Regions from separate parts of the Homo sapiens genome. Here region 2 is linked to region 1. The links are contacts of gene promoters, found by promoter capture Hi-C in human tissues and cell types (Jung and others, 2019). All regions are on one chromosome and are shown on one strand. Each heading gives the region's core, a stretch centred on a gene start or on the middle of the fragment in contact. The rest is flanking DNA. Distances are from core to core; before and after follow the strand shown.

What was found. The method cuts DNA at HindIII sites, captures the fragments that hold promoters and counts their contacts. A contact is called where the count stands out against the background at its distance.
Region 2: a fragment that was not itself captured here is called in contact with the fragment with the promoter of ABHD15 in region 1 in 1 of the 25 tissues and cell types used here (dorsolateral prefrontal cortex).

What each region holds. Positions count from the first base shown.
Region 1 is chr17:29,565,771-29,572,229 of GRCh38, forward strand. ABHD15 (abhydrolase domain containing 15) reads right to left here and starts at 1,267. Exons shown (of 2, transcript NM_198147.3): 1 at 316-1,267. The coding sequence starts at 1,196. It overlaps TP53I13 (tumor protein p53 inducible protein 13), which reads left to right and starts at 2,931. Exons shown (of 7, transcript NM_138349.4): 1 at 2,931-3,060; 2 at 3,248-3,316; 3 at 3,548-3,589; 4 at 5,821-5,949; 5 at 6,087-6,287; 6 at 6,372-6,459. The coding sequence starts at 2,989. RefSeq lists enhancers at 208-317, 2,338-2,387, 3,471-3,971 and silencers at 838-1,457, 1,548-1,807, 2,808-3,167. The HindIII fragment of the contact is 7,059 bases long and covers 1-3,510 here.
Region 2 is chr17:28,760,809-28,768,089 of GRCh38, forward strand. It overlaps FAM222B (family with sequence similarity 222 member B), which reads right to left. Exons shown (of 3, transcript NM_001077498.3): 2 at 5,778-5,899. The coding sequence starts at 5,859. Among named protein-coding and RNA genes, the nearest start is that of TRAF4, 20 kb to the left of the region's middle. RefSeq lists enhancers at 1-471, 472-1,068. The HindIII fragment of the contact is 6,278 bases long and covers 2,672-7,281 here.

The DNA.
Region 1 (6,459 bases), core at 17-2,516:
CAGGTATCTCTGCTGTCGTGGGCCAGGTGCTCAGATTGCTAGGATACAGCAGGGGGTGCCGAGATGAGGCAAGGGGCCGGGTTAGGAGTCCCTGCTCTAGCACAGCGATACTAGCTGAGTCCATCGATGACCTTTAAACCCGCTTCCCCGGTTCTGTCTAGATTACAGGGTTTGGAAGGCTTTGGAAGATGTGTTCAGAGAACTTTGCCCAAACTGGCCCACGCCTGTTCCAATGCTATGCATAGCTGTTTCTGATTCTTAGCCAGCTCAGGCCCTCTATTCTTTCCATGCTGGTCTGCGGCCTCCGTTACCCACCTGCTGAGGGCGATCTTCTGGTGGAGCAGAAAGCCCCGCTCGTAGGGCCAGGGCAGGCCGGCCTCGAACCACTCTCGGCAGCGCAGCACGGGCGAGATGCAGGCGGCGCCTGTCACGTAGCTGGAGGAGCCGCACTCGCCCAGGTAGGACAGGAGCAGCGCCGAGCCCGAGCCTTCGCTCACCGCGAACAGCGGCGCCGCCGGGTGTCGGAAGCGGATGTATGTGACCGCCTCCTTGAGGTCGGACGGGTCCCCGAAAGGCTGCAGCCGGGGGCTGACCAGTGGGCAACCGTGGTGGCCGCGGCGATGGAAGATGACCGGGTAGTAGCCGCGCTCCAGGGCGAGCAAGCAAAGGCCGAGCACGTTGCGGGTGAGGCGACCCCACGCATTGGGGATCACCAGAAGCACCGCAGGAAGGCCCCCGGCGCTGGTGATCCGGCGGCCCCGAACACAAGGTCCTACCACCCAGTCCAGGGCCACTAGCCCATCGTCCGCCAACTGCAGGTACTCCCGGGCCAGCTCAGGCCCAGGCGCTACGGGCAGGACGAAGTGGCAGAGGGTCTGCAGGTGGGGCCCGGAGAACCAGGAGCGCGGGCCGGCCTCCAGCGCCTCTGAGCGCCGCAGGGCGCGCAGCAGGCACTGGGCCAGGGCCGACGGCTTGCAAACAAGGCTGCACCCTCCCGGCAGTGGCTCGCGCCCGTCGCTGAACTGGTCCGCCGGGCCTCCGCCGTCCGCCTCCTCCCCGTCGTCTCGGTCTTGGGCCCCCGGCAGGGTCCTCTCTCCGACGGCGCGCCCCCAGGGTCCCCGGAGCCGCGGGCCGAGCAGGCCGAGAAGGGCGAGCACGGCCAAGATGAGCGCGAGGGCGGCGCCCCACGGCGGCATGGCGAAGCTGGAGAGCCCCGGCGGGCAGCGGGCGGCGGGGCCGTCTACTCGGCGAGCTCCGCGCTTTGCCCGCGGCTCCGCCCGCCGGCGGCGGCTGCCCAGGGCCCTCCCGCGCGGGCGCGCTCTGGATTGGCCGTGGCCGGGCAGAGGCAGCCAGTTCGGGCCCGGCTGCCCTCGCCCGCCCCCCACCCCCGCCCCGGCCCTTTGTACAGCAATTGCAACAAGTGGGAGCAGAGGGTGAGAGGAGCCGGGGCCACCAGGGAGGGAGGGCGCGCCGGCAGCCGGAAGGGAGTGGGGAGGGCACGAGCCGGGGAGAGCGGTGTTGGCCATGGAGACGTGGGGAGACTGGAGGCCGAGGCTTGGGGACCCGACTGTCATCAGGGTCTTCCGCCAGACCCTGGGCGCTGCGCCCTCAGAGGCCGATGAAAAGAAGCAGAAGGGAGAGGTGAGTAAGTCGCAGCTCCGGGCGCCGGCTCCCGGGACCCCGTGGGGCGGCGGCCGCGCGCGCGCTCTGCCCTCGGGCGGCCCTGCTCTCCCCCGCCCGGCCCCGCAACCCCGCAATAACTTGGCTGGGCGGGGTCCGGCACTGGGCTAGAGAGGTCGAGCGCGGCGTCTTGAGCCGCTGGCGGGAGGCTGCTGCTTCCCCGCCTGCATCAGTGCGGGTCCCGTGGACTCCTCGCCCCCGTCCCCGCGAGCTCGGGGCTCCACATCAAGGAAATCCTCAGCCCGGGAGTGGCTTCCCCAGAAACAGCAGCCCCAAGCCTCCGAGAGTCAGTCGGAGAAAAGGACACACTCAGGCGCCCTGCGACAGGGATGCCCGTCCGACCTACAAGGAACGCCTCGTAAACCGGGGTGCATGGGAGACCACGGAAATAACACGTTCTCGCTGTTTCCAAGCTTTGGGATAGGCATCTCGACCCTCGCTCTCTACCCACGTTTCCCCCCCAAATCCTGGAGAGGGAACCAGAACCAGCGCCCCGCTGCGGGGCGGGCCGGCCAGCGCACCTCCTGGGGGTGAGGCCTGTGGCGTCCCCATCTCGCGGCGACCAATCTCTTTCTAGACGCGCGCCTGCCACCGCTGGGCGACGGCGGAGGTGGGGAAGACAGCAGCCTCTCGGCTAGCTCCGGCCTCCCGGGGCTTCTGGGTTTGGAGAGTTTGGGGAGCGGAGACACCTCCCGAGGCTCCTCCGCGTTGGACCCTATTTGCGAGGGCGGGAGCGGGGTGGGCCGACGGCGAAGCTCCAGAGGTGGGACCCTCTCCCTTCAGCAGCTCTTCCTGACTTCATGATTCTGCCCCTCTTCTCATTGCAGGTCACACCGACAAATCTGAAGCGGGTTTGCCAGGGGAGTGTACCCGTCTCCCCAGCCTGGGCCACCCGGTCCACAGGGATTCCATTTCCGGCCTTACACTCCGCTCCACGATCTCATCCAGGCGCTGCAGCTGTGCAGCTGCTCTACAGACTGCAGGGACCTGCTGAGACGAATCCCCGGACGAGGAAAGGGGCCCCCCGCCTGCCCTACTGAGCCTTGCGCGCTGACCCGGTTCCTACACTTAACTTTTCCGGCTTCGGGTTTAAGACGCGTGCGCGCACACTCCGCTGCTGTGGGCGGGCATTGGGGCGGGGCGATACCGGGGGCCCACTGTCTGGGGAGGGGCGCGCGCGAGCCCAGGGCCAACGGACGCGCGGGCGGCGCGGGCGGCGCGGGGGCGCTGGGGCTGGAGGGGCGGGGCGCGCGCGCTCCCTCGCTGGCGGAGCGGCTGGGCGGCGGGCCGGGCCCGGGGCCGCTTGGAATGGCGCCTCCTCCGCCTTCGCCCCAACTGCTTCTCCTGGCAGCCCTCGCGAGGCTCCTGGGTCCCAGCGAGGTAAGGTGACCCGCTCCTGGGAAGGCCTCGGCCCGCGAGCTCAAAGCGCTTTGCCAAAAGTTCGTCCTGGAAGGAGTGGCGCGCCGAGGGGGACGCGGAGTTCTTCCGCTGGCGGGCTGGGCCTGGGGAGAGAGAGGGCAGGGCCTCGCCGCGTCCAGCGCCCCAACTCTTCGCTTTGGACCCACAGGTGATGGCTGGACCGGCGGAGGAGGCGGGAGCCCATTGTCCCGAGAGCCTGTGGCCTCTGCCTCCGCAGGTAGGAGCCCTGGAGGGCCCAGGGAGAGAGGGATGTGAAAGGCTAGCCCAGTCCCGCTCTGTTCTCGCCGCACCCTCCACAGTCACCATCTGAGGACCTCTGCCGGTTCCTCAGTCCTCAGTAGCCAACTTCTCCATCCCAGCCTGGCGCTTGGGGCCTGCCGTCCCCTCCCCACCACACACACACGGAGTCCCCCAACTGCCCTAAGCTCTGTTCTTTCCCCATGTATAGGTGTCACCAAGAGTGACCTACACACGAGTGAGCCCAGGGCAGGTGAGTACAAGCAGGGGCCCACCACCCTTGGTGTCCACGCCTGGAGACAGGCGCTCCTAGCAGGCTTCGCTGCCTGTTCTGCTGATCGGCCCCATTCCTTACCACTTCCCTCAGGCAGAGGCAGGGTTCTAGTTCTCTGCCCCACCTCCAAGCCCAGGACAGATCAGCCCCAGGACAGATGGCTCAAAGACAGTGAGCCATAGGCCTGTCATCTGCAATGCTGTGTCAGGATGCTGTTGGGTAGCTGGCTCTGTGGACAAGTGGCTGTGAGTGGAACTCTCTCTGAGAGTAGCTGGAAAAAACCCAGGCTCCAGCTCCCTGAGGAGACAGCGGGAAGTCTCCTGACTTTGTGGGCCCCAGCTTTCTGTAGGAGAGGGTATTAATTCTGTCTCTACCTGTGAGCAGCGAGGGAGGGTATGTGCCAGCACCGTGTACAGTACAGAGCTGCATCGTGCAAGGAGTGTGCCTCCAGTTGCCAGGCTCCACACTGCGGGCTCAGCTTGCGTGGTAGCATCTCCATCTTCATCGCCAGCTCCTCTGAATTTTCCTTTGAAATACTTATTATTATTATTATTTGAAATGGAATCTCACTCTGTTGCCCAGGCTGGAGTGCAGTGGCACTCACTGCAACCTCTGCCTCCAGGTTCAAGCAATTCTTATGCCACAGCCTCCCGAGCAGCTGGGATTACAGGCGTGTGCCACCTAGCTTAGCTAATTTTGTATTTTTAGTAGAGACGAGGTTTCACCATGTTGCCCACGCTGGTCTTGAGCTCCTGACCTCAAGTGATCTGCCTGCCTCAGCCTCCCAAGTGCTGGGATTACAGGTGTGAGCCACCATGCCTGGCCTGAAATACCTAACTTAAATTGGCCAGGCATGGTGGCTCACACCTGTAATCCCAGTACTTTAGGAGGCTGAGGCGGGTGGAACACCTGAGGTCAGGAGTTCAAGACCAGCTTGGCCAACATGGTGAAACCCTGTCTCTACTAAAAATACAAAAATTAGCTGGGCGTGGTGGCACACCCCTGTAATCCCAGCTACTTGGGAGGCTGAGGCAGGAGAATTGCTTGAGCCCAGGAGGCAGAGGTTGCAGTGAGCCGAGACCATGCCACTGCACTCCAGCCTGGCGACAGAGCGAGACTGTCTCAAAAAAAAAAAAAAATTCTCTGTAATAGCTCCAGGCCAAGAGTTGTTGCCTCACGCCACCTATCAGATTCCTTTCCTCAAACAGCCCTTTCATGAAGTCATTCCTCTGTTCACAAACTGTCAATGGCTCCTTATTTCCCACCTTATCGTGGCCATATTCTCCGGCCTGGCTTTTCAGGCCTTACTTAAGTAAGCTTCGTCTGACCTCTCCACATCCTTGGTTCCTCTCCAGTTGTGTCGGGCTGTTTGCCACACAAATGAGTGCCAGCCTCGCCCTTACCACAGCCCCTTTGCTCCTGTTTATTCTCCTCCACACCTGGCCTATCCTGACTCGGAGAGTGCAGCTCCCTGCCCTCCTGCCATACTCCCCCAGCCATCTTCCCAGTCCCAGCTGGCATCAGCTCCCCCTGAGACACTGCCCGATGGCATCAGCCTTTATTCCTCCCCTCCTCCTCTGAATCTATCTCTGATAATTTAACAACTAATCACTAAGTTTTATTAGTTTGCTGTTTTATTTGCATTAGTTGTTTCCCTGAGTTTCTCACACACTCCTTGCAAGCAGAGTCCAGGAGTTCTTTGGCATCTCCCACAGCATCTAGCACAGCACTGAGCACCAAGTCAACTCAATCAAAGAATAATGAATGATTGATGGAGTATTTCCATCCTGAGATTGTGCACCTGCTGCCTGCCTGCCCTGTATTTGGATGCTCTTGGGAGACTGTATAGATTGGATCGATGGTCTTCATTTGGGGGTTGCTTATGGCTTGGATTGTGGACCTGTAGAGCCATCGTTACACCTGCAGGGAAATATGGCTAGAGTGTGGTCTGAGTCTGGCAGGATTATCCAGGCATGCTGTGAGCTTTGAAGGGTGGCACTTGATGGAGAGGAAGGGTGAAAGGAACACTCAGAGGCAAGAGTGGGTACATGCCAATACCCAGGGCCCTTTGTCCTTTCCTGGGCCCTGAAGGTAGAAGAGCCATCCAGCTATCCTGGGAGTACCTTTAAACTGGTCCCCTGGATGGGAGAACTTGAGATTCTCTGGGAGGGCTCTGGGCCTGCTTTGATGTCTCTGTGCCTTTCCTCCAGGCTGAGGATGTCACCTTCCTCTACCACCCCTGTGCCCATCCCTGGCTGAAGCTCCAGCTTGCCCTCCTGGCCTATGCTTGTATGGCTAACCCTTCCCTCACCCCTGACTTCAGCCTCACGCAGGATCGGGTATGTAGCTGATGAAAGGCGCTTGCCTGGCCCTGGCAGAAGGCTATGGCCCCGTGTGCAGGGAATGGAAAATTCAAGGGTTTCCTCTTGTTTGTCCCCACCTTCCTCGTAGCTCTAACAGTTACCTCCTCTCGTAGCCCCTGGTGCTGACTGCATGGGGGCTGGCGCTGGAGATGGCCTGGGTAGAGCCAGCCTGGGCTGCCCACTGGCTGATGAGGAGGCGGAGGAGGAAGCAGAGGAAGAAGAAGGCATGGATCTACTGTGAAAGCCTTTCAGGGCCTGCTCCCTCCGAGCCAACTCCCGGTAGAGGGAGGCTGTGCCGAAGAGGGTGTGTGCAGGTGAGAGACGCTGGGCCCAGGCTTGTTGGCCCTCGGGTTCTCTGAGAGGGGCAGCAGGGTGATTGCTCTCTCTCCTCTCCTTAGGCCCTGGCTCTGGCCTTTGCTCTGCGGAGCTGGCGGCCCCCTGGCACAGAGGTGACATCTCAAGGGCCCAGGCAGCCCTCTTCTAGTG
Region 2 (7,281 bases), core at 4,561-7,060, 800 kb before region 1:
GTAGACAGAATGCTTCCTTTCAGGAGCAGAGGAATAAGCTGCCAACATCTCTCCCCTTCCCCATGTCACAAGTTCACTTTTGTTTACAGTTTACTCTATGCCCGACTGGATGAGGATCAAAGGCTTTATTTATTTGCTTGAGAAGGAAGATAATAATGACAGGGCAGCAGGGAGGGAATTGAGAAGAAAGGATTCAGAGCATCTTTCAGTCCTTTCAGTCCTGAGAGCCAAAAATAGTCTGTATTTGGTCCATGTCAGCTGTCATTTTCCAAAAAGAAAGAGGAAAAACCTGCCTGCCTTTGGAGACTGCGGAAATGCCCACTCGGTGTGCCTCATTAATGTTAACAGTCTCTTTGTTCCCATCTCCTGTTGCCTCCCATCAGGGGGCTCAGCGGATGTCCGGCTTCCAGTCAAAAAGGAAAAGGTTCTGAGAACAAGGGCTCTTTAAGGATGCCAACCTCCTGCAAGGGGGCTCTGCTCTACTCTCTCGTCTCTGAGGGAGGGTCTCCCCTGAGTATACACAAAAGGTGCCTAATAAATGCTTGCTGAATGAGTACACAGACTGCCCAAAGCAGAAGTGGCTTGGCAGGAAGCCCAGGCTCAGCTAGCCGACTCTCTCCTTACTTCCTCCTCTTGCAAAAGGCAGGAGGATAGGCCAACGACTAATCTGACTGAATGCCCAGCTTGTGGCCTCAGGTGGCCTTGGCCCAAAGGAGACTCTATTCAAAGTCACATCACTGGGCATCACCTAGAACAAAGGTAGGCTAATGAGCATATTAGAAGGAAAATGGGTACAGCTCTCTTTGTTTGGTGATAATGCTGGTTAGCAACTCCTGCTCTGGGAAGCAGGAAAAGAAAGCTCAAGTCAGGAGGGGCAGAGAGATTTGGGCCCATGCTCACAAGCAGATCTGGGCAAAAAGAGCCAGGCATCCCCACCTCCCAAAACAGGTCTGTGCTTTCAAATACTGGCAAAAAAGTCTGGGATCACTGATTGAGAGCAAGTCCCTAAACTCAAGACATCAGAATTCCAACAGAAGCTGCCTTGGTCAACCACTGTACCTATGTGTCTTATTGGTCATAATCTCATATAATACTCCTAGCACAGTGCTTTAAACCTAGCCCACCTCCATGCTGGTGGGCTTCTCTCCTTGAAATCCAAGTAGAAGTCGTATAGTACCTTGATGAGTAGAAGAGTCCCTTTGTTCCAAGTTAGTACCAACTCTGAGGTTTTTTTTAGCAGAGGCAAGGGGGAAGCTTGACCTCATTCAGGAGTATGGAAGGGGACACTTATCCACATTGATTAGTTTTCTTTGTCCTGCCTCCACTGATGCTGAAATGGTGAAGAGGGCTGTCAAAGGATTCAGAAATAAAGTGAAATGAGGGTAGGGAGGGTGGCCACAAGGCTACAGTAGCTTTGTTAAGGAAGAACCCCAAAGATGAGTACAGTATATTGAACAAAAAAGGGGTATCATTCTGGGAATACAGCACCATCTACCTCACATACCAGACTTAAGCCTAACTCTTAAAAAAAGTTTTCTGCTGGGCGCAGTGGCTCATGCCTGTAATCCTGGCACTTTGGGAGGCCGAGGCGGGTGGATCATGAGGTCAGGAGTTCAAGACCAGCCTGCCCAGCATGGTGAAACCCTGTCTCTACTAAAAATACAAAAAATTAGCCTGGGATGGTGGAGCGCACTTGTAGTCCCAGCTACTTGGGAGGCTGAGGCAGGAGAATTGCTTGAACCCGGCAGGTGGAGGTTGCAGTGAGCAAAGATTGCACCACTGCACTCCAGCCTGGGTGACAGAGCGAGACTCCATCTCAAAAAAAAAAAAAAAAAAAAAAGTTTTCTCAGCTGGGCATGGTGGCTCACGCCTGTAATCCCAGCACTTTGGGAGGCCGAGGTGGGTGGATCACGAGGTCAGGAGTTCAAGACCAGCCTGGCCAAGATGGAGAAACCCCGTCTCTACTAAAAAAATACAAAAAATTAGCCGGGCATGGTGGCAGGTGCCTGTAATCCCAGCTACTCGGGAGGCTGAGGCAAAGAATTGCTTAAACCCGGGAGGCAGGGTTGCAGTGAGCCAAGATCGCACCACTGCACTCCAACCTGGGTGACAGAGTAAGACTCCGTCTCAAAAAAAAAAAAAAAAGTTTTCTCAACACTTATCACAGCCCCCACACAGGCACCCTGACTACTTATTTTCTTCTGTAATGTATTTCTGTAACTACACAGCCAACACAGATACCACAGCTTTGTAAGCGACTTACTTAAATAGCTTATACCAATAGTGTCATTAATAGAGACATAGACAATGTAGGGAATAGGAAATCTGTAGTTTGTAAAGGGTTAGAGAAACCTGTATTCAAGTACTAGCTTCATCATTTGCCCATACTGAGAGCCTGTCATTCCTCAATTATCAACAGGGATGAATTCTGCTCTCCTACTTCACAGAATTACTAAGATCGAGAGTCAATGAACATTTTCACTAAATGAGCATTTTCATTGAAAATGAAACAATGATGGTCAATAGTTACCATTCAAGGATAGCAGATGTGGCTGAGTCTGACCACAGACAACACAAAGAAAACTGACTAAGGAAGCCCCAACTGCAGGACAACCTGGCCTTCAGCCTGAGAGTTAAATGTAACAGAAAGCACTGCTGTCTATTCCAGGATGGACTGGAGGCAATTTTCTGCCTGAAATTCAGTCCTCCCAATGGAGACCTCTCTGTTCATCCTTCTGTTTTGAAGGTCAGAGGGCACAGGTGGCATAGGCAACAGGAACCTCTATCTGTAGGCAGAGAGGCACAGGCAATGTGTTCAAACACAGATTTCAGAGTCTGAGCTGAGTATGGGCCAGTCACAGGACTGTCATGTGGCACTGGCAAGTGACAAACCCTCTCTCTATACCTTATCCTTCTGACAAAGGCAAGAGAGTCTTCCATATGGAATTTTTGAGGAATGGGTGACAACATATGTGAAAATATTCAATATAGTGCCTGGCACATGGTAGCAACTTGACAAATGTTAGCTATTATTTCTATGACTTTATCCAGTCATTGGGTCAATCTGCCATTTCCAGACCCCTCCACTAGGGGGCAGATATGCACATAAAGAAGCAGTAAAAGAAGGTAATTTTGGCATTTGTCCCCAGAGCCCCAGTGTTCTGCCATGGAAGGAAATCAAAGTTGTTATCTGAAGATGGTTTAAGGACCAAGGACCTTTTATCAGCTATTCAAACAGTAAATATTTACAGAGCCACTACTATATTGTGATCCTGAGAAGGGGAAATACAGAGCAGAGGTTTAGGATTAAGAAAGAAAAAATTTCCAGTGGCGCATGCCTGTAATCTGAGCTACTCGAGAGACTAAGGCAGGAGCACTGCTTAAACCCGGGAGATGGAGGTTGCAGTGAACCGAGATTGCGCCACTGCACTCCAGTCTGGGTGACAGAGGGAGACTCCATCTCAAAAAAAAAAAAAAAAAAAAAAAGGGCCGGGCATGGTGGCTCATGCCTGTAATCCCACTACTCAGGAGACTGAGGCGGGAGAATCACTTGAACTTGGGAGGCGGAGGTTGCAGTGAGCCGAGATCGTGCCACTGCACTCCAGCCTGGGTGACAAGAGCAAAAGTCCTCCTCAAAATAATAAAATAAAATAAAGTGGGCTGGGTGTGGTGGCTCACACCTGTAATCCCAGCACTTTGAGAGGCCGAGGCAGGCGGATCACCTGAAGTCGGGAGTTCGAGACCAGCCTGACCAACATGAAGAAACCCTGTCTCTACTGAAAATACAAAATTAGCTGGGCGTGGTGGTGCATGCCTGTAATCTCAGCTACTCAAGAGGCTGAGGTAGAGAATCGCTTGAACCCAGAAGGCGGAGGTTGCGTTGAGCCGAGATCACGCCATTGCACTCCAGCCTAGCAACAAGAGCAAAACTCTATCTAAAAAAAATAATTAAAAAAAAAATAAAAATAATAAAAGTGAACACCAAGATAAAGCTGCCAATTTGCCCGTCCTCCAAATGGCTTTTCCCTTGATATCACATCTTTGGGTAAAGCTGTCAGAGTGTGTTAAGGAACCCAGAACAAAGGAAGCTTCTCTTTGTCATCTTACTGCATGCCTCTAAGTACGTTCCCTCTCCAGTTGTGTCCCCAGAAGCCCAGAAATAGGCACGATGCAGTTAGGATGCTGATTTGGATGACCAGAGAGTATAACATAACACCTTCATCACCCAATCATCACTTATTAAGATAAAGGATGGGTTGAGAAAGCTATAGCAGAGCTTGCCTTATTGTGTCAGGCAACTGTAGAAGGAGGACTACCACCTTCAGCTGTTATTACATAGAGCTGGATTCACTGGCCAAATTCCAGAACTAGCCAGGCTCTGAGTCTTACGCTCTCTCAAAGAAATGAAGTCTAAAGGCTGGACCATTTTTAACTTCTGATGATGTTCTCACATGGCAGGGGCTGGCAAACGACAGCCTGCGTGCCTGGTCCAGTTGCTGTTTTTTTGTAAAAAAGTTTCACTGGAACACAGACACCCTCATTTGTTTATTGTCTGTGGCTGCCGTTGCCCTACAATGCCAGAGTTGAGTAGATGCAACAGAGACCACATGGCCCACAAAGCTTAAATTATTGGCTATCTGGGCTTTACAGAAAGTTTGTTAACCCCTGTCATAAGGGGTTCAGTTAAGGTGCTGAAGCACCTTTCCTATCAAAGGGAAGCCTAGCCACCTCAATGATTTCCCCTTTGTGCTCTGAATGGAAGGTCTATTCCAAATTTAGGGCTGTTTTTACACCTGAAGATACTATACATGGTAATGTGCCAAGAATAGAATATTTTCCTTGCAGATCATGTATTACAGGGAGAGAAGGTAGGAAGGAGTCCGGGAAAATATGAAGTATAAAACCCCAATTCCAGAAAGTTAAGACAAGAATCTAACAGTTTTCAAAGGCTCAATCTTCTGGGAAGTGTATTAGCAGGAAAATGCCCAGAGAGACTGAGAAAGCTAGCTCTCCATCTCTTCTGAGGGCAAAAGCTCCCTGACTTCCTGTGAACTAAAGTCACACTGACTCAGAAGGCAGGTAGCAAAGCCAAAGGGAACTGTCTGTTTCCATGGTAGACTACTAAGAGAGTTCAAAACAAGAGAACAGCATAGTTTATTTCAGAGATATAGTAAGTAATCTGGACTGTGAGTTTTCATTCAATTCCCTATGAAGGTTCAAACTGAAACACCTTTTTTAAGGGTGATATATATATATATATTTCCCCTGAAGCTCTTTATAGTTTTGTTGTTCAACAGAAAGCTATCAGCAACAATTAAAATTGAGATACAATGGGGAATTACAGAATTTAAGCAGACCCCTAATGGCTGGACACAGTGGCTCACACCTGTAATCCCAGCACTTTGGGAGGCCAAGTTAGGGGCATCACCTGAGATCAGGAGTTTGAGACCAGCCTGGCCAACATGGTGAAACCCTATCTCTACTAAAAATAGAAAATTAGCCAGGCATGGTGGTGGGCACCTGTAATCCCAGCTACTCGGGAGGCTGAAGCAAGAGAATTGCTTAACCCGGGAGGGAGAGGTTGCAGTGAGCCAATCAAGATCGCGTCATTGCACTCCAGCCTGGGTGACAAGAGCAAGACTTCGTCTTAAAAAAAAAAAAAAAAGAAAGGTGTCAAAATTCAAGGTCAGTGTACCCCAGATGTGCTTCAAGGACGGCCCAAATGTAGAGACAAAAACAAAGAATCACACATGCTCCATAGGATCCAGATTACTTACATTTCTGAAGTCCAGTGTTCATCTGCGTGTGAGAAAGAAGCTGAAAGGACAGGTCACCTGGCCCTGGTAGACAGGCTAGCATGGCAGATTGGCATCAACACAACATGGGGCAGTGGCTCACACTGTAATGAACAAAAACAAGGTCATGAAACACAAGGCAACTCATTCGAAGAAGAGAGTAGGAACACTGGATATGACTGGCGTGAGGCCCAAGTTTAGACACATAAAGCAATTTAATTAGCAGTGTGTTGGTTGAAAGTATACTTACATCTTTATCTGTGACGACAATTTGCTGTCAAATATCACTATGGTTAAAATGATTTTTCAGTTACCACAGATGTATGGATGGGAGAAATAAAACTGGAAAGCACCTATTCATACAACTGGAAAGTACAGGTGCATTTATAATGTCTCAGTATTCCTGAGGAGAGTGGGCCCTCATAGGGCCTGGCTCAGCCAGCCCATTTATAGGCCTGGTTGGAGACCAGCCAGACATTTTCAGAAGCAGCACATTATATGATTGCAAAGGTACCCAATGTCTGACTTGTGAGCCAGTAATATGAACCCACTTTTATTTTATTTTTTTTGAGACGGAGTTTCACTCTTGTTGCCCAGGCTGGAGTGCCATGGTGCGATCTTGGCTCACTGCAACCTCTGCCTCCCAGGTTCAAGCGATTCTCCTGCTTCAGCCTCCCGAGTAGCTGGGATTAAAGGCACCCGCCACCACGCCTGGCTAATTTCTTTGTATTTTTAGTAGAGACGGGGTTTCACCATGTTGGCCAGGCTGGTCTCGAACTCCTGACCTCAGTTGATCCGCCCACCTCGGCCTCCCAAAGTGCCGGGATTACAGGTGTGAGCCACTGCACCCGGCCATGAACTTACATTTATTTACTTATTTATTTATTTATTTAAGACAGAGTTCTGCTGTCACCTAGGCTGGAGTGCAGTGGTACAATTTTGGCTCACTGCAACCCTTGACTCCTGAGTTCAAGCGATTCTCGTCCCTCAGCCTCTCTAGCAGCTGGGATTACAGGCGCATGCCGCCATGCCCAGCCAATTTTTGTACTTTTAGTAGAGATGGGGTTTCACCATGTTGGTCAGGCTGGTCTCAAACTCCTGACCTCAGGTGGTCCGCCCGCCTCAGCTTCCCAAAGTGCTGTGATTACAGTCATGAGCCACCGCACCCGGCCGAACTCACTTTTAAATGGAAGGAGGAAAGCATCCTAGGAGGCACAATTAACCACTGTTAAAGCAAATTCTGTTTGCAAATTTCTGGGGCTTCACCCTTCCTGACATGCAATTAGACCTCCTGAACTACCTCTCCCACCCCCTCAAAAGAAATGCATTGCTCCCAGACTAAAGCAAGGAGAAAGGCTGCCAGCAGCTCTCTTCGTGCAGGCAATCCTGACATGTCAAGACCGCACGAGTTTCATTAGTGATGTTTACCAACCAGACATACACAGCCCAAGCAAGCAGACATTGATGGGGCCTTCTGTAGCGAAAG